Linked DNA regions of Homo sapiens: all the other regions are linked to region 3. The links are contacts of gene promoters, found by promoter capture Hi-C in blood cells and fetal thymus (Javierre and others, 2016). All regions are on one chromosome and are shown on one strand. Each heading gives the region's core, a stretch centred on a gene start or on the middle of the fragment in contact. The rest is flanking DNA. Distances are from core to core; before and after follow the strand shown. Region 1 holds the start of HERC1 (HECT and RLD domain containing E3 ubiquitin protein ligase family member 1). Region 2 holds the start of MIR422A (microRNA 422a). Region 3 holds the start of DAPK2 (death associated protein kinase 2). Region 4 overlaps HERC1 (HECT and RLD domain containing E3 ubiquitin protein ligase family member 1).

What was found. Contacts are between HindIII fragments. The CHiCAGO score rates a contact against its expected background, and 5 or more counts as called.
Region 1: the fragment with the promoter of HERC1 here is called in contact with the fragment with the promoter of DAPK2 in region 3 in 11 of 17 cell types (megakaryocytes, M1 macrophages, M0 macrophages and 8 more); the score reaches 10.7 in megakaryocytes.
Region 2: a contact is called between a fragment that was not itself captured here and the fragment with the promoter of DAPK2 in region 3, in 2 of 17 cell types (M1 macrophages and M2 macrophages). The highest score is 7.1, in M1 macrophages.
Region 4: a fragment that was not itself captured here is called in contact with the fragment with the promoter of DAPK2 in region 3 in 6 of 17 cell types (M1 macrophages, total CD8 T cells, M0 macrophages and 3 more); the score reaches 7.6 in M1 macrophages.

Annotation. Positions count from the first base shown.
Region 1 is chr15:63,829,986-63,835,763 of GRCh38, forward strand. It overlaps HERC1 (HECT and RLD domain containing E3 ubiquitin protein ligase family member 1), which reads right to left and starts at 3,963. Exons shown (of 78, transcript NM_003922.4): 1 at 3,842-3,963. RefSeq lists enhancers at 3,119-3,984, 3,985-4,848, 4,022-4,151 and a silencer at 3,352-3,781. The HindIII fragment of the contact is 17,710 bases long and covers 1-5,778 here.
Region 2 is chr15:63,865,240-63,871,021 of GRCh38, forward strand. MIR422A (microRNA 422a) reads right to left here and starts at 5,780; the gene lies at 5,691-5,780. The HindIII fragment of the contact is 717 bases long and covers 3,014-3,730 here.
Region 3 is chr15:64,043,852-64,049,318 of GRCh38, forward strand. DAPK2 (death associated protein kinase 2) reads right to left here and starts at 2,634. Exons shown (of 12, transcript NM_014326.5): 1 at 2,447-2,634. RefSeq lists enhancers at 918-967, 1,018-1,067 and silencers at 2,268-2,487, 2,518-2,577, 2,598-2,807. The HindIII fragment of the contact is 10,777 bases long and covers 1-5,467 here.
Region 4 is chr15:63,800,244-63,806,419 of GRCh38, forward strand. The region is part of intron 1 of HERC1 (HECT and RLD domain containing E3 ubiquitin protein ligase family member 1); the gene reads right to left. Among named protein-coding and RNA genes, the nearest start is that of HERC1, 31 kb to the right of the region's middle. RefSeq lists a silencer at 1,766-1,955. The HindIII fragment of the contact is 1,763 bases long and covers 802-2,564 here.

The DNA.
Region 1 (5,778 bases), core at 2,713-5,212, 210 kb before region 3:
TCCCTTAAAGAATTCCAATTAATAAATGCAGAAGGAATGAGGGAAATACAAAATCATGATTAGCCAAACACCACAGTAATAACTGTTGCAGACAAGATCTACCAATGGATGTTAAAAATCAATGGGAGAAAGTTTGAGGAGAAACTGTACATCCACAGTCTCAAAGTGTCTCCCCCAAGATATGTATGAACAATAAAGGGAAGAATAGTAACTTTACTGTGAAGAATACCGCTAAGGGTTCAAAGTTAAAATACCACTAGCAAAAAGACATGTCAACACCATGTACCCCCAATATGATGCATTGAGAAGGACACAACATCGCTTCTGTAGTTTTCTTGCAAAACATGCTTAACCTCAATCAAATCATGAGAAAAAACATCAGACAAACCCAAAATGAAAGAAGTTCTAAAAAATAACAGTACTCATCAAAAATGTCAAGGTCGTGAAAAACAAAAACTGAGGAACTGTCAGAGATTGGAGGAAATGAAGAAGACACAACAACTAAATGCAACGTGGGAACCTAGATTAGACCCTAGAACAAAAAAAAAGGCATTAATGGGGAAAAACCAGTGAAATTAAGTAAAATCTATAGTCAATAGAGTTACACCAATGCTAACTTCTGGTTTTGATCACTGTATTATGGTTATGTAAGTTGTTAACATTAGGGGGAGCTTGGTGAAGAGTATGTAAGAACTCTGTACTCTCTCTGTAACTTTTCTGTAAGTCTAACATTATTTCTAAATAAATCATTAAAAATAAATAAAATCCATCAACCAATCATCTGATACAACTGTCATATCTTCTTGCTCAAGGATCTCATCTGAAATTTAACAGTCCCATTAATTTAGAGAGCCCGGTAGGCAACATCAGAACAAACTAAAATCATGAAAATCGGATCTGGCATCTAGTAAGTAAACAACTACTTTATGCTCTTTTTCACTTTTTGTAGTTAAAGAAAATGCTAGCAGATGTGACCTTCCTGGCTTTGCAAACTTCTCTGTAAATGATTTGACCAACTTTTTATGTTTTCAACATCATGATAATCTGCAATACATGCTCACAACAATGTATTTCATGTGTATGTTAAGCCAAAGTTGTGTAGACCTTTGTTGTTGTTTGTTTTGTTTTATTTTGCTTTTGAGATAGAGTCTCACTGTGTCTCCCAGGCTGGAGTAGAGTGGTGCAATCACAGCTCACTGCAGCCTCAATCTCCCAGGCTCAATTGATCCTCCCATCTCAGCCTCCCTAATAGCAGGAATTGCAGGTATGCACCACCACGTCCAGCAAATTTTTGTATTTACCATAGAGACAAGGTTTCACCATGTTGCCCAGACTGATCTTAAACTCCTGGGCTCAAGCCATCCTCCCACCTCGGCCTCCCCAAGGGCTGAGATTACAGGCGTGAGCTACTGTAATCTGGCCAAAAGTTCTATTTACAATTTTTAAAAATAGCTTCAACAGATTATAGTAAGTTTGTTACTTGCTATTATATAGTTATCCAACTATAACATTCAAGTTTTGTTTCACAAGTTTCTTTTTATCCTAACACAACCTTCTCACTCTCCAAGCCACGATGTCATCATTATCATCATTTTAAGATCTGAAAATCTGAATTTTAAAAATTTTAAAAGGTCAGCTCCTTCAATATACCCAGCCCCCTTTTTTTTCTATTTCAAATATTAGGGAGTATTCAGTATGACTTTTTTGGGGGAAAACATGCTTGGAACGTTGGAATTGTTATTACTATTTATTATTTGCACCCTCTACTAACCCAATCCAGTCCAATCACCAACACATTCTCCAAAATTTCTTTAAATTGAGATTTTCAAGAGATGTTTATATTAATAAGCAGATTAAGTGACGCATTTACATTTGCTTTCTCTTCCATGCAACATCAGGGTGCCTGCATTGGAAATGGAATACATGACCAGCAAATGAATGGATGTGTCACATGCAAACAGCATGACTGGAAATTTAAGAAGCAAAATGATAAGAACCTTAGGGAACGCAAAATTCATAAAAGTTTAGAATTACAAGAGGCCTTAATAGGCCATTTAATCCATTCCAATAACAACAACCCCAGATGACAATCTATCCTATTTTTAAAAGGCTCCAGATTTCCAACCTCCCTAGATATCTCATTCTGCCATACAACCTTGTCATGTGATTTGGGGGAAATATTATGACTGTTCTTTGCCCTTCCTAATGCTATCTTTTCTCAAATAATATAGCAATACATCTTAACTCACTTCCAAGATATATAAATGTGTATAGGTGCAGAATACGTGTGTGTGTGTGTGTGTCTCTATACATATATACGTACATTTATGCATAAGACAGGCACCTAGGACATTCAATTTTGCTTGTATAAACGCAGGCTATGGAAACACATATATCAAAGAGACATACTCATCCCACACTAATCACAACAGGCACTATGAAACAATGTCACAGAACAATTTTGGTCTAAAAATATCCAGTAGAAATCAATTTCATAAAACCTGAGGTAAATAGGTTTCTTCCCACTATGAATAATCATAGTTTCTTTCCCTTCTACAAATACTGCCCCATTTTGAGCAACCACCACTAACAGAATTGTAAAAATATAATATATACATAGGTACTAGACCCAAACAGACAATGTTTTAACGTTTGATTTTTCAAACCACTTAGCTAACAATCATTTTGGAAAAGGGCCCAGTGAAAAAGATAGTGATGGCAGAGTTCAGCCAGTGATAATGAACTAGCAGCCAGTTTTAATCAAGCAGGCCAGAGAACTGATTCAAATAAAATAAATCATTTTTGGAACAAATATAGAATGAGGAAGTCCCAAGCAAGGATAAAAAAAAATGTGTCTGTTAGGAAATACAATAAAATGTTAACCATGAAATGCCACCTCTGGAGATGGAATTACAAAGATGGGTTAGTTTGTTCAGATTTGTTATTCCCATCATTTAATTATCTCTATATTCTAAGTATTATAGACATTTCTTAAACTAAGACAAATCTGTCCCTGTGTTTCACAGCTCTCTAAGATAACATGTCTTTTACATAACCTCCTGGGAGAGGTGGTACAAGCTCCTGTCCTCCTCGTGTCTCCCAGTAACCTGCCACCCATCACAGAACAGATTTCACCATGTTCCCCGGGGTAGCTCCTGTCATCACCATCATCATCCTCATCTCACGCTTAAGACTAAACAATGCGCCCCGCCTCGCCTCCCGGTTGCAAAGGCTTTATAATTTGTTGTTTTATTGGGGCGGGAGATTTGGAGAAAGGTTTAGCAGATGATGAGCTGCCCTCACCCAAAGGCAGAGGAGAGGAGGAAGACACGTCGTCCCAGCCTCCACCCCGCTAAAGGCGGCCGGCGCCTGGGGACACCGGGGTCGCGGCACTCCCCGGACCCTGAGAGGGAGTCGGCCGCCGCCCGCGGACCGAGCCCCAGCCGGGGCAGAGGAGCTGGTCAGCAGATAAAGGAATGAAGCAGAAAGAGACGCGACCACAGCGGGGCCGGGGCACAGACGTTGTAAGCCGCTGGAGGGGCGGGTCTCTCGGCCCTCTCCGCGGGCGCCTCGGCTTCTACGCTGCTCCGAGGCGCCCGGGCGGCAGGAGGCCTCTAGAGCCGGGGACCCGGGGGATCCGCGGCGCGCCAGGAGGGCTCCCCCAGCTCGCCTGCCGCCCACCCGGGACCCCAGCAGCCCCGCTCGGCTGCAGTCCCGAAACGGCCCCGGCCGGCCCTGCGCGGCCGGCAAAGCACACACGCGCGCGCGCACACACACACACACACACACACACACACACACACACAGGACCAGGAGGACGGTAGATGATGCGTTACCGTACGTGGCTCTGGAGCTGGCGGGGTGGGGCGCGGCTCCGGCGACCCGAGCCCGGCTCCGCAGAGGCTGCGGCGGTCGCGTCCTTTATTTTTGCTGCAGCAGCAGCGACTTGTCAAAGGGAAAGACGTAAGAGGCGGCGGCAGCAGCGGCGGCGTCAGGCGAGTCTCACGAGATTTGGGCGGAACTCTCGCGCAGCCGGGAGCCCTCGCCCCGCCCAACAGGCCCAGCGCGGGAGGTGAAAGGGGAACCGAGAGGAAGGCGGCTGAGGTGGAGTTGGGGGTTGAGCGAAAAGGGGAAAGGGATTTGGGAGCGAGGGGAGCCAAGCTAGGTGCTGGGGACACTTTGCTACCGCGCGGCCCTCACCCTTCAGCCGTCGCGGAATCCGGGCAGCCCCGACCGCCTGCGGGGACCTGACTCCACAGATGAAGCACAATTGGGGGCGTTTCACAAAGGGTGGTGAGGAGTGGGGGGCCATGCAGTGCGCCCCCTTTTCCTCGTGGTGGGCAGGGAAGACCCCGCCGCCAGGCGAAGGGACACGTGTTACGGCCGGCGGCAGGGCCAGGGCCTCACCCCTTTATCTCCGCCTCGCACCCGGCGCCCCACGCTCTTTATCTCTCATCGCAGCGGCCCCGGCCCTCCGGCCGGCTAAGTTCAATCACATAAAAGCGTTTCACTTGACCTACTCTTCCACCTTGTTCATGTCTTTGCGCCTTATGGGACTGCCAGAACCCTGCAGATGCCAGGGCCTGGCTCCTCGGTTTTCTTTTCTGCTTGGGAACACAGTAGTGTCCTTTGGGTGACTTACATCCTTGATCATGACCTCGACCTCCACGTGAAACCCCATGAGGGGAAGGACACAGACTGGCTCAGTCCTCACCATATCTCCAGCGCCTAACATAGGTCCAAGTGGACATTAAATTGTTGAGTGAATACCCCATCTCCATCTTCCTCCTTCTGTACCTGGTTTTACTCCTTTCCAGCCACCTTCATGGTGTCTTTCCTTCCAGATATTCTAACGAGCATCAATTAAACTGACCGATGACTTGGGGACAAAAAATAGAGTTGGCCTCTGCGTTCCAGAAGTTTGCAATCCAATTGGAGGCGTAGGAGAAGCACACAAACATACAAGCCATGAATGTGTCACTAATGTAAGAAATTACGGTATAGACAGACGAGGGAGTGCTTTCCCATGGTTAAATTAGATACATGTTTGTGTGTCACATGAGGCAGTTTAGTCCAAGAGTTAGGAGCCATGTGCTTCACTGTCAGACACTGGTGGGAATTCTGGAATCCCACTTACCCCAGGTGTGTGACCTTGGGCAAGTTGCTTGACCTCTCTGAACCTCAGTTCCTTATGTGTCAATTTATAATGCCAGTTCTTGTTATCACAAGGTTCCTCTGAGGAGTAAAATATATGTAAAGCTCACATACGGCACATATTAAGTACTCATTAAATGATGGGTCTTAGGTGTGTAGCTTTTAAGTTTCTATGTATAAAATGTGTATTTCTGGTAAATGATGTAAGGGAGTAGCTACATGAGGAGTGATGTCATTGTTGCTAGTGCTTTATGATCTGGGTATTGTGTGTGAAGCATACTCAAAAACAACAAGCAAAAGCTCCTCCTTTTAACTTGTTGATGTCATCTACGTCACTCACAAATATGATATTCTGTCTTTCTTGAATTTGTAAAATTGTACTGGTTTTGCCCACTTTTTCTTTTTCTTTTTTTTGAGATGGAGTTTTGCTCTTGTTGCCCAGGCTAGAGTGCAATGGCACCATCTTGGCTCACTGCAACCTCCGCCTCCCAGGTTTAAGCGATTCTCCTGCCTCAGCCTCCCAAGTAGGTGGGATTACAGGTGTGTGCCACCATGCCTGGCTAATTTTTGTATTTTTAGTAGAGATGGGGTTCCACCATATTGGCCAGGCTGGTCTCGAACTCC
Region 2 (5,782 bases), core at 2,122-4,621, 180 kb before region 3:
GGAGGCGGAGCTTGCAGTGAGCTGAGTTCGCGCCACTGCACTCCAGCCTGGGTGACAGAGCGAGACTCCATCTCAAAAAAAAAAAAAAAGGTTACAATGACAAATTTTATGTTATATATATTTTCTCACAATGTTAAGATTAATAAATTAATGTGCCAAAAGCCATTGAATTGTACACTTTTTTGTTTTTTTTGAGACGGAGTCTCAAAAGTCCAGCCCAGGCTGGAGTGTAGTGGCGCGATCTCGGCTCACTGCAGCCTCCACCTCCCAGGTTCCTCCACCTCCCAGATTCTCCTGCCTCAGCCTCCAAGGTAGCTGGGATTACAGGCCCTCGCCATCATGCCTGGCTATTTTTTTTTGTATATATATTTTTTAATAGAGACGGGCTCCACCACGTTAGACAGGCTGGTCTCAAACTCCTGACCTCAAATGATCCGCCCACCTTGGCCTCCCAATTTGCTGGGATTACAGGCATGAGCAACTGTGCCTGGCTGAATCGTACACCTTAAATGGGTATATTGTATGGTATGTGAATTATAGCTCAGTAAATCTGTTAAAAAACATGAATGGGCATATTAATTTGCTTATTTAATTATTTCCTATAAAGTGTTGTTTATAGGAATCGTGCCAACTTACTGCCCAAGTTAAGTTTTATTTGTTGGTATATATTAACACATATACACACAGTTTACAATTTAATTTTCACCCTAAGTGGTGTACAGTCATTAAAGGGGCCCAGACCTCTGGGCTGCTCCAGGTTAAGAACCTTGCCCATGTCTCCTAGACCCTGAGTCTGATCTTCATCTCAGAAGTTGTCAAACTCCACCTGCAAAGCTCACTCTGGGGTAACCAAGCTCTGGAGAACCCAGGCCTCTGATGCAGACGCTTGAGAGGCTGATAAACAGGAAGGCCAATGGCTCCTTTTACCGATGGGGACACACTGAGCAGTCCTGGGTAAGGGCCCTCCCCATCACTGCGTGCCCAGCAGAAAGGAGGAACACAGGGTGCTCAGTGTTCTTCAGCACCCTCTTCCTAGCTATAACAACCATGGTTTTCACTGGCTGGTTCAACTTTATTGTGGGATAGAAGTCAATGATCAGAGCAGATATAAATAAAGAGCATTAGAAAATAATGAATCAGGAACATTTTTTTTTTTTTAAGATTCCAGTTCTACAAACCTGTTAGGAAAAACATCAGCCCCTACCACTCCCGTTTCCCACTTTCCAGGGAAACCACGTTCAGCTCTTACAGTGTCTTAAAAAAAAAAAAAATCTACTCCTTCCTGCTATTTTTCAGATTGGAAAACAGTTTGTAGAAGTCCTGGATGAGGGTCTCAATTTTGACAATTGCTCTAAGAGAACCTGTAAAGCAATATGAAATCTTGTAGAGCAATAGTAATTAGCTGTGGTAGAGGGTAGTTATAATAATGTAACTATTGCATCCTAACCCCTCTACCACAGCTAATTATTTCATGTTGCTGTACAGATTGCAAATGACTCTCCTCTACAGTATATCTTTTTTTTTTTTTTTTTTTTTTTTTGGTTTTGTTTTTGTTTGAGATGGAGTCTCGCTCTGTCTCCCATGCTGGAATGCAGTGGCGCGATCTCAGCTCACTGCAACCTCCGCCTCACGGGTTCACGCCATTCTCCCGCCTCAGCCTCCTGAGTACAGGCACCCGCCACCATGCCGGGCTAATTTTTTTTTCCTTTTTTTTTTTTTTTGTATTTTTAGTAGAGACGGGGTTTCACCGTGTTAGCCAGGATTGTCTCAATCTCCTGACCTCGTGATCTGCCCGCCTCAGCTTCCCACAGTGTTGGGATTACAGGCGTGAGCCACCGCGCCTGGCCTATATCTTTCTTTTTTTAAAAAAGGTAATTTTTATTGTGTTAAAATATACATAATATAAAATTTATCTTTTTTACTTTTTATTTTTTCTTTGAAACAGGGTCTCACTCTGTCACCCAGGCTGGAGTGCAGTGGCACAATCATAGCTCACTTCAGCCTTGAACTCCTGGATTCAAGCGGTCTTCCTGCCTTAGCCTCCAGAGTAGTTGGGCATTTTAACAATTTTTGACTGTACAATTCTTTGGCATTAAGTATATTCATGTTGTGTAGGCATCACCACCATCCATCTTAAAACTTTTTCACCACCTTAAACTGAAACTCTGTACCCATTAAACAATAACTCCCCATTGCTTCCTCCTCCAGCTCCTGATAATGACTACTCTACTTTCTTTCTCTATGAGTTTGACTCCTCTACGAACCTCATCTACCTGGAATCATACATTTGTCCTCCTTTTGTGTCTGGCTTCTTTCACTTAACATAGTGTTTTCAAGGATCATCATGTTGAAGCATGTATCAGAATTACATTCCTTCTTCAGGCTAAATGGTATTCCGTTGTGTATGTATCATACTTTGCTTATCCATTCATCCATTAATGGATGCTTGGGTTGTTTCCACTGTTTGGCTCTTGTGAATAACGCTGCTATGAACATGAGGGTAAAAATATCTGTTGAAGTCCCTGCTTTCAATTCATTCATTCATTCATTGAGACAGGATCTTACTTTATCAGTCAGGCTGGAGTGCGTGGTGTGATCACAGCTCACTGCAGCCTCAACCTTCCAGGCTCAAGCCATCCTCCCACGTCAGCCCCCTTAGTAGCCAGGACCACAGGTGCATGCCACCATGCCCAGCTAATTTAATTTTTTTTTTGTAGAGAAGGGGGGGTCTCACTATGTTGCCCAGGCTGGTCTTGAACTCCTGCCTCAAGCAGTCCTCCCTCTTTAGCCTCCCAAAGTTCTAGGATTGCAAGTGTGAGCCACTGAGCCCAGCCTCAATTTTTTGTATACCTAGAAGTGGAATTGCTGGATCTTCTAGTAATTTTATGTTTAATTTTTTGAGGGACCTACTTTGTCTTTCTGACAACAGTTTTATGACCAAGGTGAGGCAGATACTAAGACAACTGTTCTCATAAACCAGACAGGACACTTGGTGGCTGGCCCAGGGTCTCAAAGCTTGTTGGAAAGTAGAGCTGGGACTTGAGCCTGGCTCTTCTGGCTTTAAGTCCACCTTCTTTCTCGCTACCATGCTGTCCTCCCTATTATATTGGCCTTCTTAAGCCTATAGTCCCCAACCAGAGGTCTCAGATAGATGTTCCCATTCCTCCAGAGCATGTAGAGGAAGCTACATTTATGCAGCCACCCCCCTTTGTTTGCAATCATCATTAGCATCTATCAATGGCACATGCCTGGTCTATTATAGGTCTTGAATTAGAGCCCACCTCACCTCCGGTTAGACTAACTCATTGGATGAAGAAGTCTCATTGACACATTGGGAAAAAGGGTGTGCCTTTGCAATGATTCATGTCTATCTTATATGAATGCTTAATCCCTCAGGGGCTGTTCTTTGATCCAAATTTTGTTCCCCCTCTATTCTGGACCAACTGCTCCACACATAACTCATGGCATTGAAATAACAATTTTAAAGTAGCTGCCACATTTCAGGAATGGAGGGCTTTGCACATGTTAGCTCATTTACTCCCCTCACCCTGAGAAACAGAAAGCATCTTTCTGTTTTGCAGATAAAGAAACATAGGCCAGAGAGATCAAGCCACTTGCCTGAGAGATGGCCCAAGATTTTCTGGGTGCCAACATCAGTGCCTCTATTTCTCCACCTCACAACACCTCCTTCCCAAGGATATCTCCCACTATGTAAGACTTTGTAATCTAAAGCTTATGCTCTTAACGGGAACAGAGGGTTTTTTGAGTTGATGGGTTTTTTTTCTTTTTTCCTGTCTGGAGTTCAGACTTGACTTCTAATTGGTAGGGTTTTGTCCTCACTTCTTTGGACCCTCTCCTACAAGACCCTCTCCTACAAGACCACCCACCAGTCTGGGTCCTAATTGTTTGTGACTCTTTTTCAGGGTGGGAGCAGGGTGGTTATGGAATGACCATGGGTCCCGGCATGTAATAAGTGGCCATGACCTCTAGGTCTCTGGGCTAACACCAAGTGTCCCTGTTTAGCCAGTTCTCATTGAGATGTATTGAATGAATAAATAAGCTCATGAAAAAAAAATCAACCTAGACGATATTCTTCTCATCAAGAATAATAATACAAAATCAACCTAGACAATATTCTTCTCATCAAGAATAAAAATAAAATAAACCTAGACAATATTCTTCTCATCAAACAAAAACAAACAAACAAACAAAAAACTCATAATTATCCCCAGTGTTCTCTGCTTCAAAATAATGTGGAGGTACTCAGGAGGCTGAGGTGGGAGGATTCCCTCAGGCCAGGAGTTTGAGACCAGCCTGGGCAACACAGCAAGACCCCATCTTTAAAAAATTTTTTTTTAATTATCCAGGTGTGGTGGTATGTGCCTATAGTCCCAGCTACTTGAGAGGCTGGTGTGGGAGGGTGATTTGAACCCAGGAGTTTGAGGCTGCAGTGAGGTATAATCTCACCACTGCACTCCAGCCTGGATGACAGAGCAAGACCTTGTCTCTAAAACACACACACACACACACACACAAACACACATAATAGTGAGGAGGACTTGAATGCTATGAGAAGTGGGGAGCTTAGGAGGAGAGAGGAGGCCAATTTGCTATGATGAAAAGTTCAGTGCCCTAAGTTGAAATCCTAATTCCAGTCGCTTACTGTGTGGCCCTGGGCACATCACTTAACCTCTCTGAGTCATATTTTTCTCATTTTTGAAAAGGGGATAATAATTCTTGCCTCGCTGAGATGGTTGTGAGGATTAAATAAAATGAGGGGTGTGAAGGTGAGAGCACAGTCTCCAGCACACAGGAGAAATGAGGAAGCAGAGAGAATACTGGATGGATGAATGACCTAGCAAACAGTACAATATAGAATCTGTTTAAAGAAGTGAGCTTAAAAAATCCTCATGTGATGTATGTTATCTTTTGGGGCTATAAATGGCATTAGGCAATGAGGTATGTCAACGAACAATTATGACTCACCGTGGAAATACCAAGTCTTTAAAACCCAAGAACCAATTACCAAATCCAGCATCAAAGACACACTGAAGCACTTAAAAAAAAAAAAAAGTCCCATAGTCTAGGATGTGACAAAATTGCTATGTGTGGGATAGAGCCCTTGATTGCTAAGAAGATTCTGAACATTCACAGTGGAAAATTTTTCTCTTCCATAGGATCAAGTGAGAATCCTATATTCTATATGTGGATTAGGACCAATTAGGATGTCAGGGTCTAAATGATTTTGGTGATCTTGGCCCTAAGGATTGCAGGCAAAACCCAAAAGCCACAGTCTCTGAGCTCCTCCACTAAGGGTGTGCCCAACCCCCTCCTGCTCCCCCTCCGAAGCACTGGAGCTCCTCGCTGCCGGTGCCAACCTCCTCTTCCAGGAAGGAGCTCCCCACTCTCCCATGCCCTACTCTGGAGCTCTGGGTCTGATGTGTGCCTGGGCCTCCATGCTCCTGGCCTGAGGTGCTGTCCAGATGCTGAGAGTTGGGAGACTTTGCTGTCTCCAGGAATATTAATAGCATGGGAGCTGTCCAGCCTAGGGAGCCAGCACTGAGAACAGGAGCTGGGCAGGGAGGGCCTCGGAGCTCAGAGCCCAGGACCCAGAGCTTCTGAGCCAAGCTAGGATAGCCAGGAGGGGCCCTGGAGGCCATGCCTAAATGAACAAAGGAGGAAACTGAGGCCCAGGGAGGACAAAGCTTGGCTCAGGGACAGAGAGCCCATCTGCAGCAGAGAGACTCAGGCCTTCTGACCCTAAGTCCAGTGCTTCTCTCGT
Region 3 (5,467 bases), core at 1,384-3,883:
CTCTGTCCCCTTGTCGTAGGCTAGTACACAGTAGGCACTATATAAGTGTTGGCTGATTTTAACTTAGTTCCCCAGCCTCCTTTCTCAAGGCCGCTACTCAGATGCTCATCAGGTAAAACAACTGATAGCCACTTCAAGCACTTTCCTAACACCTCTCCTAAGGCGAATTTGCATTTTACCAGTTTAGAAACAAACTAAAGGGGTGAAACTGAAGTGGAATTATAGTCACCAGCTAGGACCCAGATAAGGAGCCAGAGGCACAAGGACCTTTCCAGCCTCGAAAAGCTGAAATCACATGGCAGAGGGAAGGGACACAGTTACAACTTTTGGCCAGAAGCACAGGCCATCAGCTCCAGATGCTCCCAGGATGATACCCACCTTAATGCCCATGTTTCTCCTGATGGAGTCCTTGGAATTCAAATTCCTGCCTACAACTCTAATACCAGGCAACACTTCAGGGGGCTACCACAGATTTCCTAGAACCCCATAGATCATCTATTTAGGGATTTTTAGAACTGCTTCAGGATCACCAGGGTGAGAAGGGGAAGCCAGAGCAGTTCCACGTTATCCATACTATATGTTGGCGTTCTGGGTAAGAATTCACTGTGAAACAGAAGTTTGAAAACCACTGCTGTCTGGTCTAACCCACTTGTTTTTACAAGAGGAAGCTGAGATCCAGAAAGGGGAAGGGACTCACTGAGCATCATACAGGTGACCCATCCCGCTCCTCTTCCCAGGGCTTCTTCTGTTGATAGCCACCCCAACTCCTCCAAGATGTCACCAGGGTTGGCAAAGTCAGTGGCCTCCTGAGGGACAAGCTAGGAGGAGGTGTCTAGGGCTGGAAGATCACCTCATAGGAAACTCTCAACACTCAAGAAGCCCTCTCCACCACTGGCCCAGCTCACTCTGCAAAGTGAACTCTCTCAGTTCCTCATCCCACCTCACCAAGTGCAAGTGAGTGAAACGGGACCACAGCAAGAGGGCAGGCAATGGTTGGGCAAAACACACACGACCGTCTCATTACACACACCCCCATTAGGAATCATCACACTCAGGCTCTGGAGAGGCTGCCAACAGAAGGGATGGGGCTCCGGCATTACAGAGCTCCTCTCTACATTCCAGGCTTTGACCCATCACAGTCTCCAATGAGGAAGCTGGGGCCCACAGAAGGTCAGCCACCTGCCTGAGTTGACACAAGAAAAACTTGGTCTCTCTGGCAAAGATCCAGCTCCCTTGGGAAGCCTGCTTGTTCACCCCACAGCTAACAAATCGGGAGGCCTCAAGGAGGTGGGCAGGGTCAGTGCGGGTCTCATTCCTGCCAGCCAGGAACTTACCCCAGAGGAGCAGACCTCCAGCCACATCCACACACCCCTGACCCCTCTGCCCAAGTCTCCTCTGAAGGTGCTGAATCATCAGTGGTGCCACTTGAGGGTGCTCAAAAAACATCTTGGGAGATGAGCGGTTTGGGGAAGGACAGGGCTGTGAAGTTAGCTGTGAAGAGGCCAAGGCACCACGGCCTCTTAGGTCAACAGGACTCTCCCAGGAATATCTTCCACAGAGGCAGTTGGGAGTCGCAGTGTCAGAAACCAGAGTGGCTGCCCTCCACAGGATTCCAGGATACAAGATGTCAGGCGCTGTCCCTGCACCTGCCCGCTTGCCCCCGAGGCAGCCAGCTATGGTGCCCTCTCCTCCAGTGTGCACCACTGCCTTACCATTACCTGCACGGCCTCAACGAGGCTCACCTCTCTGGACCTTGTTTTCTCTTTTGTAAAGTAAGAATACCAATTTCCACCGTGCAGAGTTACGGTGAGGGTTAGCCAGACCTATGCAAGCCTTGGGACCTCCAAAATGCCTAGCCCAGAGTCCTAGTCAACTGTTGGCAACGCCCTTCCAAGCCGTTCCACCCCAACCTGCAGCACACCTGCTGGCCGCCCCCACGCCCATCCTAGCTCTACCCCAGGCCGGGGCGCCTGACGGCGGGGACCCCAGCTTCATTCAGCCCCAGAGGAAGCTCAGACATCTGAGCACCCTCCTCGCATCACATCCTTGTGCCAGGCGGGAGCAAGAGGTGAGAGAGTCAGCCCAAGCTGAGAAGACTTGGCCGGGAGCCGGGCGTGCTCTGCCCGTTCCAGGGGGCCTAACTCGATGGACGTCTGTCTCCCATCTCCCTGCTGGGTGCTTGGCTCTGCCCGCCGCCTCTACCCTGTCTCCCAGGTCAAAGTGCCAGGCTCCGGAGGGCGCCCCAGGGCAGCGGCGGGCAGCTCCCGCGCTCGGGTGCCGGCCACAATGCCCCGGGCCACGGCGTCAGGCATTGGGGCGGCGGGCCCGGGATCTGCGAGCGAGTGCCCCGGATCTCTTCGCCCCGCCAGCCCCAGACCCGGGCGCTGCTGCCGTCAGGCCGCGCGCCCCGTCCCGCCCATCGAGCCCGCAGACGGGTGCTACTCACGGCGGGAGGCTGAGCTGCCGCGGTCGCGGCCGCGGCAGGCGCGGCGGGAGCGGCGGGCGCGGCGGGCGCGGCGGGCGCGGCGGGCGCGGCGGGAACGGGGGACGCGGCGGGGTGCGCTGGGCTCGGCCCTGCAGTCCTCTCCTCCCAGAGCGCCCGGCACCCGCCCGCCGAGCAGCCTAGGAGCCGAGGGGGCGGAGCGGCCAGCCCCGTCCCAGGCGCCGGCTGGAGGCGCGCCCGGCTGCCCGGGACGGGGCTCGGGGCGCCCCCTGCTGGAGCCCCCTCCGGACAGTCCCGGGGCGAGAGCCCAGCTTCCCGGCCGGGTAGGGGACACCTCAGGGCTCCCAGACTCCCGGGAGAGCGGGGAGAGTCGGTAGCAAGACCCTCTGCGCGTCCCTACCGGCTCTACCGCGCACATGCTGCGTGGCCTTGGGCAAGTCGGCTACCCTCCCCCGGCCTTATCTGGAAATCGATTTGAATGAGCTTATACGTATGACATGGTCTGGCACAATCCTCAGAAAATGGTACTTGTGTGCTCCTCTCCCCACCATACACACCGTGAGCGAGGAAGCCCCACTGAGGAATAGGCCGTCTCCTCCCTCCCAGCCAGAGCGCTCCCTACACCGCAGACTCTCCTGGAAACCTCAAGCCCACAGCGTACAGCAAGGTGGGGGCTGCGATGAGAAGGGCCGCTCTGCTCCTCACTGCCCCCGACCCAGCCTGAGAGCGGCCTGCCCTCGTTTGCCCTTTGTCCTGGCACGGTTGCTGAGTGAAGCCCCCCTCTCACCATCACGCCTTCTCTAATAGAGGACTTGGGAATGGGTTCCTCTCTCTGCCCTCTGCCAAAAAATCCCTGAGGAAAAAAGGAATGAGAGTGAGGGGGTGAAGGGAGGAAGGAAGGGAAAACAGAACTTAAGCCAAGTTCATTTGTCTTATTTCAAAACAAGAGGCTGTTTAGAGGAAGCAAATGAGGACCCCTCCAACCCCTGGAATTTCCATCCCTAAGTCACCCATGGGGCTCCTCAAAAGGGCCTTAGATTCAGAGTCCTACCACCAGGTTCAAAGCCCTGCCCTGCCACTCCGCATGTGTGTTCTTGGGCATGGCTCTTTCTTCATCAGTAAAGTGGGAGAAACGCACCTTCCGGTAGCTCCTAATGAAGCTATGGTGGGGCTGAGATGAGATGGAGTGTGTAAGATGCACCTAGAGGACCTCTACCAGTGTGAGCACACACACACCCTTCAGCCTTTTGGACATTGGGACAAATACAGATGGACCCCACCCCCCAGCTGAGCAGTGCCTCCGGGTCCAGGACATCCTCGGCAAAGAGTTCCTTGTTTATAAACTTCACAATAATTCAGAACAGTGCAGCCAGCGAGCCTCCTCTCCTAAGAGCAGCATGATATATAGAGTAATATCCAAGACTAGAGGTGGTTTCTGATGTCAACGGACCTAAGGGAATGACACCCACTGGTGAAGTTTCACCAACATGAGAAGTCCCCCACCAAACTATCCCTAAACACCTCTTCCTCCATTTCCATTTACCTATCACTGGTGACAAACCATTACCAGCCTTGGTGGCACAGGACAACAGTTTCACTATGTTCATGCATTCTGAGGGACAGAAGTTCAGACAGCACAGTGTGTATGGCTTATTTCTGCTCTGCAGTGTCTGGGATTTCAACTGGGAACACCTGAATAGCTGGGGGCTGAAATCATCTGGAGATTTCTCCATTCTCATACCCAGTACCTGGGCTGTGATGAATCCAAGGCTGGGCTCAGCTGACCCTGCTGATCACCTACATGTGGCCTCTCCATCTCTTTCCCTTGAGCCTCATGCTTAATACCTCATTGTCAGCAGCAGCAGCCCCTTACATGAGTCAAAAGAGACATTCTTGGGTTTAGCAATTGACAAGTTAGTCAGAGTCCATTGCAGCTGGAAGGGTCATTGTCAATTGACCCTGGCCACTTTTCAGATGAGGAAACTGAGGCTCGGAGAAGGGAGGTGACTTGCCCAACATCACATAGCTGGTGAGAGACAGAGCTAGGATTAGAACCAGGCCTCCTCCAGATTCAGTCTGGTGCCCCTTCCACTGTACCTGCCAGAATGCAACTATCTAGGAAGCTACCATCTGGAGATGCATCTTATGCTTAAGGTTGGGTGAGTTCATCAGACCCTCACCTGAGGGCAGCGACAGGGCACTGAACACAGGACCAAGGTGGCCATCAGCAGAAAAGGGGAGGCCCCGAGGACAGTGGCAATGAAGACACAAATTCCAGAATGAAGCCAGAGGCAGTCCAGGTATTAAGAGCTAAGAATTATCCAACTCAGTTCCAGTCCCTGCATGGTTCCCATGGCTGACCAAATCGAGTGTTAATGCCTCACCCTAGCATTTAAGGCCCCAACCCTTATTTTCCTGCTGTGTATGCACATTCCCTTCCCTCCTCTGCATGCACATCCAGCTCTTTTGCCAGGTTGGATTATTGGCTGTTCCTGCCTCCATGCTTTTGTTCGTTTCCACTACCCTTCATCCCATTCTACAAAATCTTATCTATCCTCTAAGAGCCTTCTAAAGTATCATGTCTTCCACAGAAACTTCCCTGGTCTGCCCTCTAAATACCTCTCTCCTTTGAACCTCACCACTCTTGGTTGGTACATCTCTTGTCATCTTCCTTCCTCTATTTTAATTAGTGTCTACTTCTCCTTTTCTCAAGGGCAAGTACAATTTCTTGTCCATCTTTGAACCCATACAGTGCTTGATATCCCAAACCCAGTAAAGGTTTCTTAAACTGAATTAAGGAAGGTAAATATCACAAGGGGCCATAGCTGTCTTGTTTTCTATTGTCCCCTAAGAGCACCCAAGCACCTGGCACTTAGTAGATGCTCAATAATCTTACTTCAAGTGCTTCACTTCTAGGGGGATGTCATTATCCTCTTTTACAGATGATGTAACTGAGGCTTGAGAAATTTGATTTGCTCAAACTCATCCAATTTGTAAGTGGCTGAGCTGTGACATGAATCTTGC
Region 4 (6,176 bases), core at 433-2,932, 240 kb before region 3:
GGAAGAGTTTAAAATTTTTCTGAAGAATAGGTTTACTCTAAAGAACAAAATCTCTCCTCTGACAAGAAGGCCAAGAACTGACCTCTCCCCTTGCTCTCTCTTCTATAGACGCCTGAGATCCTTAACTCCTGGAAGGCACTATGCTCCTTTGTATTTCAGGAACTTTGCACAGGCAGTTCTCTTTATTTAGAGCCTGCCTTCTCCATTCCATCCTCTTTCACCCAGTTAATGTTTAGTCACAAGATATCAGTTTAAACAGTACAGTACCAGAGATATTAATTAGGTACTCAGTAACAGTATCACTAGCTGAATTAAATGTCACTTCCTCTGGGAAGGTATCCCTGACTATACCCATGTGAGATTAGGTCTCTCCCAAAATGTTCACACAGCATCCAGTACTTTACCTTCATAGCACCTTGCATGGTTTGCAATTATATATAATTTGTGCGATTTGTTTAATGTCCATTTGTGGCATAAGAAATACATACTTGGTGTTCGTAATTTCCTTTGTGATAGGGGAATAGGAGCATCTTTTGTTATTCGTAACAAGCCCCTTTCAACCATACCTGAGTTTATGCTAATGAGGTGACTCTTAGTGGGCCCTTAGATAGCTTCAGGATGAAGGCTGGTTGCCAGAGAAACCAACCAAGTGATAAAAGTGTTGGAACTTTCAGTTCCACCACCAGACCTCAAGGGAGAGGAAAAGGGGTGGAGATAGAGTTAATCACCAATGGTCAACGATTTAATCAACCAAGCCTACGTAATGCAGCTTCCATAAAAACCCCTAGACAGGGTTCAGAAAGCTTTCAGGTTGGTGAACACATCAAGATGCTGGGAGGGTGGCATGTCAGGAAAAGGCATAGAAACTCCATGCCCCTACCCCCTGTATCTTGCCCTATGCATCTCTCCCATTTGGTTATTCCTGAGTTGTATCATTTATAATAAACCAGTCATTGTAAATAGGATATTTCCCGTGTTCTGTGAGCCATTCTAGCAAATTACTCAAAGGTGAGGGGGTAGTTGTAGGAACTCCCCCGTTTGTAGGCAATTCAGAAGTGTGGGACTCAATACATGCAACTGGCATCTGAAGTATGAGTAGTCTTGTGGGACTGAGCCCTTAAACCTGTGTAGTCTGATGCTAACTCTGGATAGTGTCAGAATGGAAATGAACTGCAGGGACAGCCCGTTGGTATCTGGAAAGTTGAAGAACTGATTGGTGTACGCAAAAAACTCACACACTTGTTGTCAGAAGTGCTGTGAGTAAAAACAGCAAAGACAATCTTTCACATTAGTCTATAAAGACTATCAGAGCAGAGGCAGTATCGATTTTGCTTATATCCCTAGTGTTTATTAGCATAGGTAAAGCACATAGAGGGAGCTCAATAAATATTTCCTGAATTAAGCTAAGCAATCTGAATCCAGGTAGTCCATTATGCATATTGAATATAATTTAATCTCACATATTATCTTACTCTGAACTGACCTAATGTGAGCAAGTGCAAGTGTGGTGGTACCACAGTGGATATATCCTAGGGATTCTATCTGCAGTCCACTTCAGTCTCCTCCTCTTCATGTACATACATTTTTGGATCCCAGCAACTCCCAAGGCTTTTACCTATCTCATATGCTAATGAATCCAGTCAAAACTTCTCCTGAGCTCCAGACCTGGACATCCACTGCCAGCATGATATACCCACTCAGATGTACCAAAGGAATCTCTAACACATCATGTTTAAAACTGAACTCTCGACGTCTACCAACCCATGTCTCCCCCAATACACAGTACTTAGAGAATCATAAGAGAAAGTGTCAATAAAGACTTCTCAAGGGCATTTCTGAAAGTGCAGGAGGAAGAGCCCATTTGCAAAGTTCTATAACTGAAACTTAAATGTACACTGTGGTCCAGGTCTCCCCACTCCTGCCACATGTACTTCTAGAAGGCTTCATTCAGCTGAATGATTGATGTTGGTACTCTTATTCATTAAACCACACAAATTATCAATGGTTAGCTGTGCAAAATTGAACTCCTGCTAAAAAAGAAAAAACTTTTTCGTTGTTATTATTGCTATTTAAGAAAGTACACTTAGAAAAGGAAAAGATTTGCTGAGTTTGCTGGCAAATTGTTTTTGCTACATCAATAATGAGAACTAGTCAAATAAACCTGGAAACAGACGTGCCTATTCGGTGAGTAAAGAACTACAGACAAAATCAAATCAAACTAATGGGTTTTCACTTGCATTCTAGAACCACCAGTTCACAATCCTGATCAACCAGCTAAATATTGGCAAAGGAAAAACTGCAGTTTTGTTTTGTTTATTAATTTAAGGTAAAAATTTATAACACTAAAAGCCAATTGTTTTTTTTCCACTCCTGGTACAATGCACAAATCCAAACTGACATACATACATAAATTACCAAAGATTCACCAATGAAAAGAAAGGTTAGAAAACTACCAAGGAACTGGAAAAAAACCAATCAGCACTACAACTATCTTTCTAAAACTGAAATAAACGAGTTACTGCAAGTAAGTTTAAGTTCCTATAAGTGAGTTTATCAAATTCTGAAGCTTTTAGCATTCTCTAGGTGAACAAAGCAATAATAGCAGTTACAATTCACTGAAGCACTTTCTATGTGGCAGAAAATACATGTATTATTTACTCTTCAGAGCAACTCTATAAAATAGGGGCTGCGTGTGGTGGCTCATGCCTATAATCCCAACACTTCGGGAGGCCAAGGTGGGAGGCTCACTTGAGCCCAGGAGTTTGAGACTAGCCTGGGTGACATAATGAGACCCCATCTCTACAAAAAATAATTTGGCAGGCATAGTGGTGCACCCCTATAGTCTCAGCAACTTGGGAGGCTGAGATGGGAGGATCGCTTAAGCCTACGAGGCTGCAGTGAGCCATAATTGTGCCCCTGGGCAACAAAGTGAGCAACCCTGTCTCAAAAAATAAAATAAAATTTAAATTTAAAAAACTAATAAAAAGAAAAAAGTACTTGTATTATCCCCATTTTCCAGGAAGGGAAGTGGAGGTACAGAGAGGCTAAATAGCCCAAGGTCACAACTGCCAGTAATTGATAGAGTAAGGATTCAAACCAGACTAGTCTGCCAGGTGACCCCTTAACCACTAAATCATGCTGCTTCTTATCAACATCGTGGTGTATATCATGCTCTTTTTTTCTCTCTTTTTTTTTTGACACAGGGTCTGGTTCTGATGCCCAGGCTGGAGTGGCAGCGACACAATCATAATTCACTGAAGCCTTGAACTGCTGGGCTCAAGCTATCCTCCCACCTCTGCCTCCTAAAGTGCTAGGATTATAGGCGTGAGCCAACACGCCCAGCCCCATACTAACTTTTTAGAAATTAAAACCTCAGAAGGTTTTAATGAACCAATTGCCAATTCAGTTCCTTCTTAAAAGTCTTGTTGCTATGATAAAATACATTCCTCCTAACCACTCTTTCAAGATTATTAAATGATCTCAATTGGGTAACAAAAGAAGCAAAACACTTTTCACAGTCTCAGAAACTTGCAAGGCAGGAAGGCAATGGACTGAGAATAGCAAAACAATTCTAACTGATAGAGAAAACATTAAAGATGTACATTATCTGACTTTTAAGCTTATTATTAATATAAAACTAGTAACTAGTAATCAAGACGTGGTAGTGGCAACAAGATAGTGGTACTTTCATCAAGATAGATCAACAGAACAGAACTGAGGGTACAGAAATAGACCCACATATATATGGCCAACTGATGCTTATCTAAAGTGTCAAGGCAGTTTAATAGGAAAAGGATAATCTTTTCAACAAAAGGTGCTGGACCAACTGAATATGCAAACAGGAAAAATAAACCTTGACCCTAATTTCATACCATATACAAAAATCAACTCAAAATGATTCACAGACCGAAACGTAAGAGCTAAAACTAAAAAGTCTCTAGAAGAAAACATAGGAGAAAATCTTAGCAATCCTGGGTAAGATTTCTTAAATAGCACACAATAAATTGATAAGCTAGACCTGATCTAAATTAAAAACTTTTGTCCTTCAAAAAGTATTGCTAGCCGGGCACAGTGGCTCACGCCTGTAATCCCAGCACTTTGGGAGGCTGAGGCTGGTGGATCACCTGAGGTCAGGAGTTCAAAACCAGCCTGGCCAACATGGTGAAACCCGTCTCTACTAAAAATACAAAAAATTAGCCGGGCATGGTGGCGGGCGCCTGTCATTCCAGCTACTTGGGAGGCTGAGGCAGGAGAATCACTTGAACCCAGGAGGTGGAAGTTGCAGTGAGCCGAGATCGTACCATTGCACTCCAGCCTGGGCAACAAGAGCAAAACTGTCTCAAAAAAAAAAACAACACTGTTAAGAAAATGAAAAGACTTAGATATGATGAACACATACATAAATAAGAAAATGAAAAGGCAAGCCCCAAGATGAAAGAAACTATTTTGTAAAACATATCCAATGAGACGTGTATCAAGAATATATAAAAAGAACCCTTACAACTCAATAAGAAAACTCAATTTTTAAAATGAGCAAAATATCTGGACACTTCACCAAAGATACATAAACAGCCAAAAAAGCGCATGAAAGGATGTTCAACACCATTAGTCAGTAGGGAAATGGAAATTGAAACCACAACAAGATACTATTACAAATTCAATAAATGGCTCAATTTAAAGACACAGATAATACTAGGTATTGGTGAGGATGTCACCACCAGTGTGTAGAACTCTCATACACTGCTGGTAGAAATGTGACATGGGAAACTGCTTGGCAGTTTATCATAAACACACGCTGTACTTAGCACATATGCAACAATTCTACTCCTTAGGTATTTGCCCAGAAAAATGAGAATACATGATTACATAAAGACCTGGTCATCAGTATTTATAGCGTCTTTATTCATAATAGCCAAAAACTGGAAACTCGACTGTCCATCATCTGATGAATGAATAGGTACATCATAATATATGCATACAATGGCATACTACTCAGTAATAAAAAGGAATGAACGACTGATTCAAACAACACAATGGTTATTCATTACAAGCAAAATGAATAATAAGCATTATTATTCATTATTTGGAGATTCAACATGGATGAATCTCAAAAGCATTATGCTAAGCGAAATAAGCCAGACACAAAGACTACATAACTATGGTTCTAGCTGCATGAAATTCTAGAGTAAAAACCACGGTGATAAAAAGCACATCAGTTGTTGCTAATGGCTAAGGAACAGGTGGAGAAGATTACAGCCAAGACATAAAAGGGAACTTTCTGGGTATGATGAAAAGAGACTATATGATGATTGTGGTGGTAGTTACATAACTGTATTAACATTTATCAAACTGTTGTCTTAAAATGGTGAATTTATGGTATGTTAATTATACCTCATCAAAGCTGACCAAAAACAAACAAAAGGTCAGACACTATGGCTGAGGCCTACAATCCCAGCACTTTTGGAGGCTGAGGCAGGAGGACTGCTTGAGGTCAGCAGTTCAAGACCACCCTGGGCAATACAGGGAGACCCCATTTCTACAAAAAATAAGTTAGCCATGTATAGTGGTACGCTTCTGTGGTCCTAGCTACTTGGGAAGCTGAGGCAGGAGGATTGCCTGAGCCTGGGAGGTCAAAGCTGCAGCAAGCCATGATCATGCCACTGCACTACAGCCTGGGAAACAGAGCAAGACCCTATCTCAAAACAAAAAAAAAAAAACAAACAAAACCCAATTACTTGCAGGCCCTGCCTCTTGTCCACCCAATGCTGGTATTCCCAAAAGTTCTAGAACCTCCTTTTTCTTCTCAGTATATATTTTTTCTTAACATCAACCACTTCCTGTTCATTGCTAAAGCTTAACTCATCATCACTACAGATACCTCCCAAATCACCTCTGATGAGCATTTCTGCAGAACACAAGTGGTTTTTTTTTTTTCTCTTTGAGATAGGGTCTTGCTCTGTTGCCCAGGCTAGAGTGCAGTGGCTATTCACAGGTGCAGTCATAGCTCAGTGCACCCTCAAGCTCCTAGGCTGAAGCAATCTTCCCACCTCACCTACATAATCTTTACCTGTCAAAATCCACACTTTTCCTTCAAAGGCCTATCTCAAAGGTGACTTCTTCCATGAAGCTTTTCATGTTGTAATCACCCTACGCTCACCAACACAGATTTACTCACT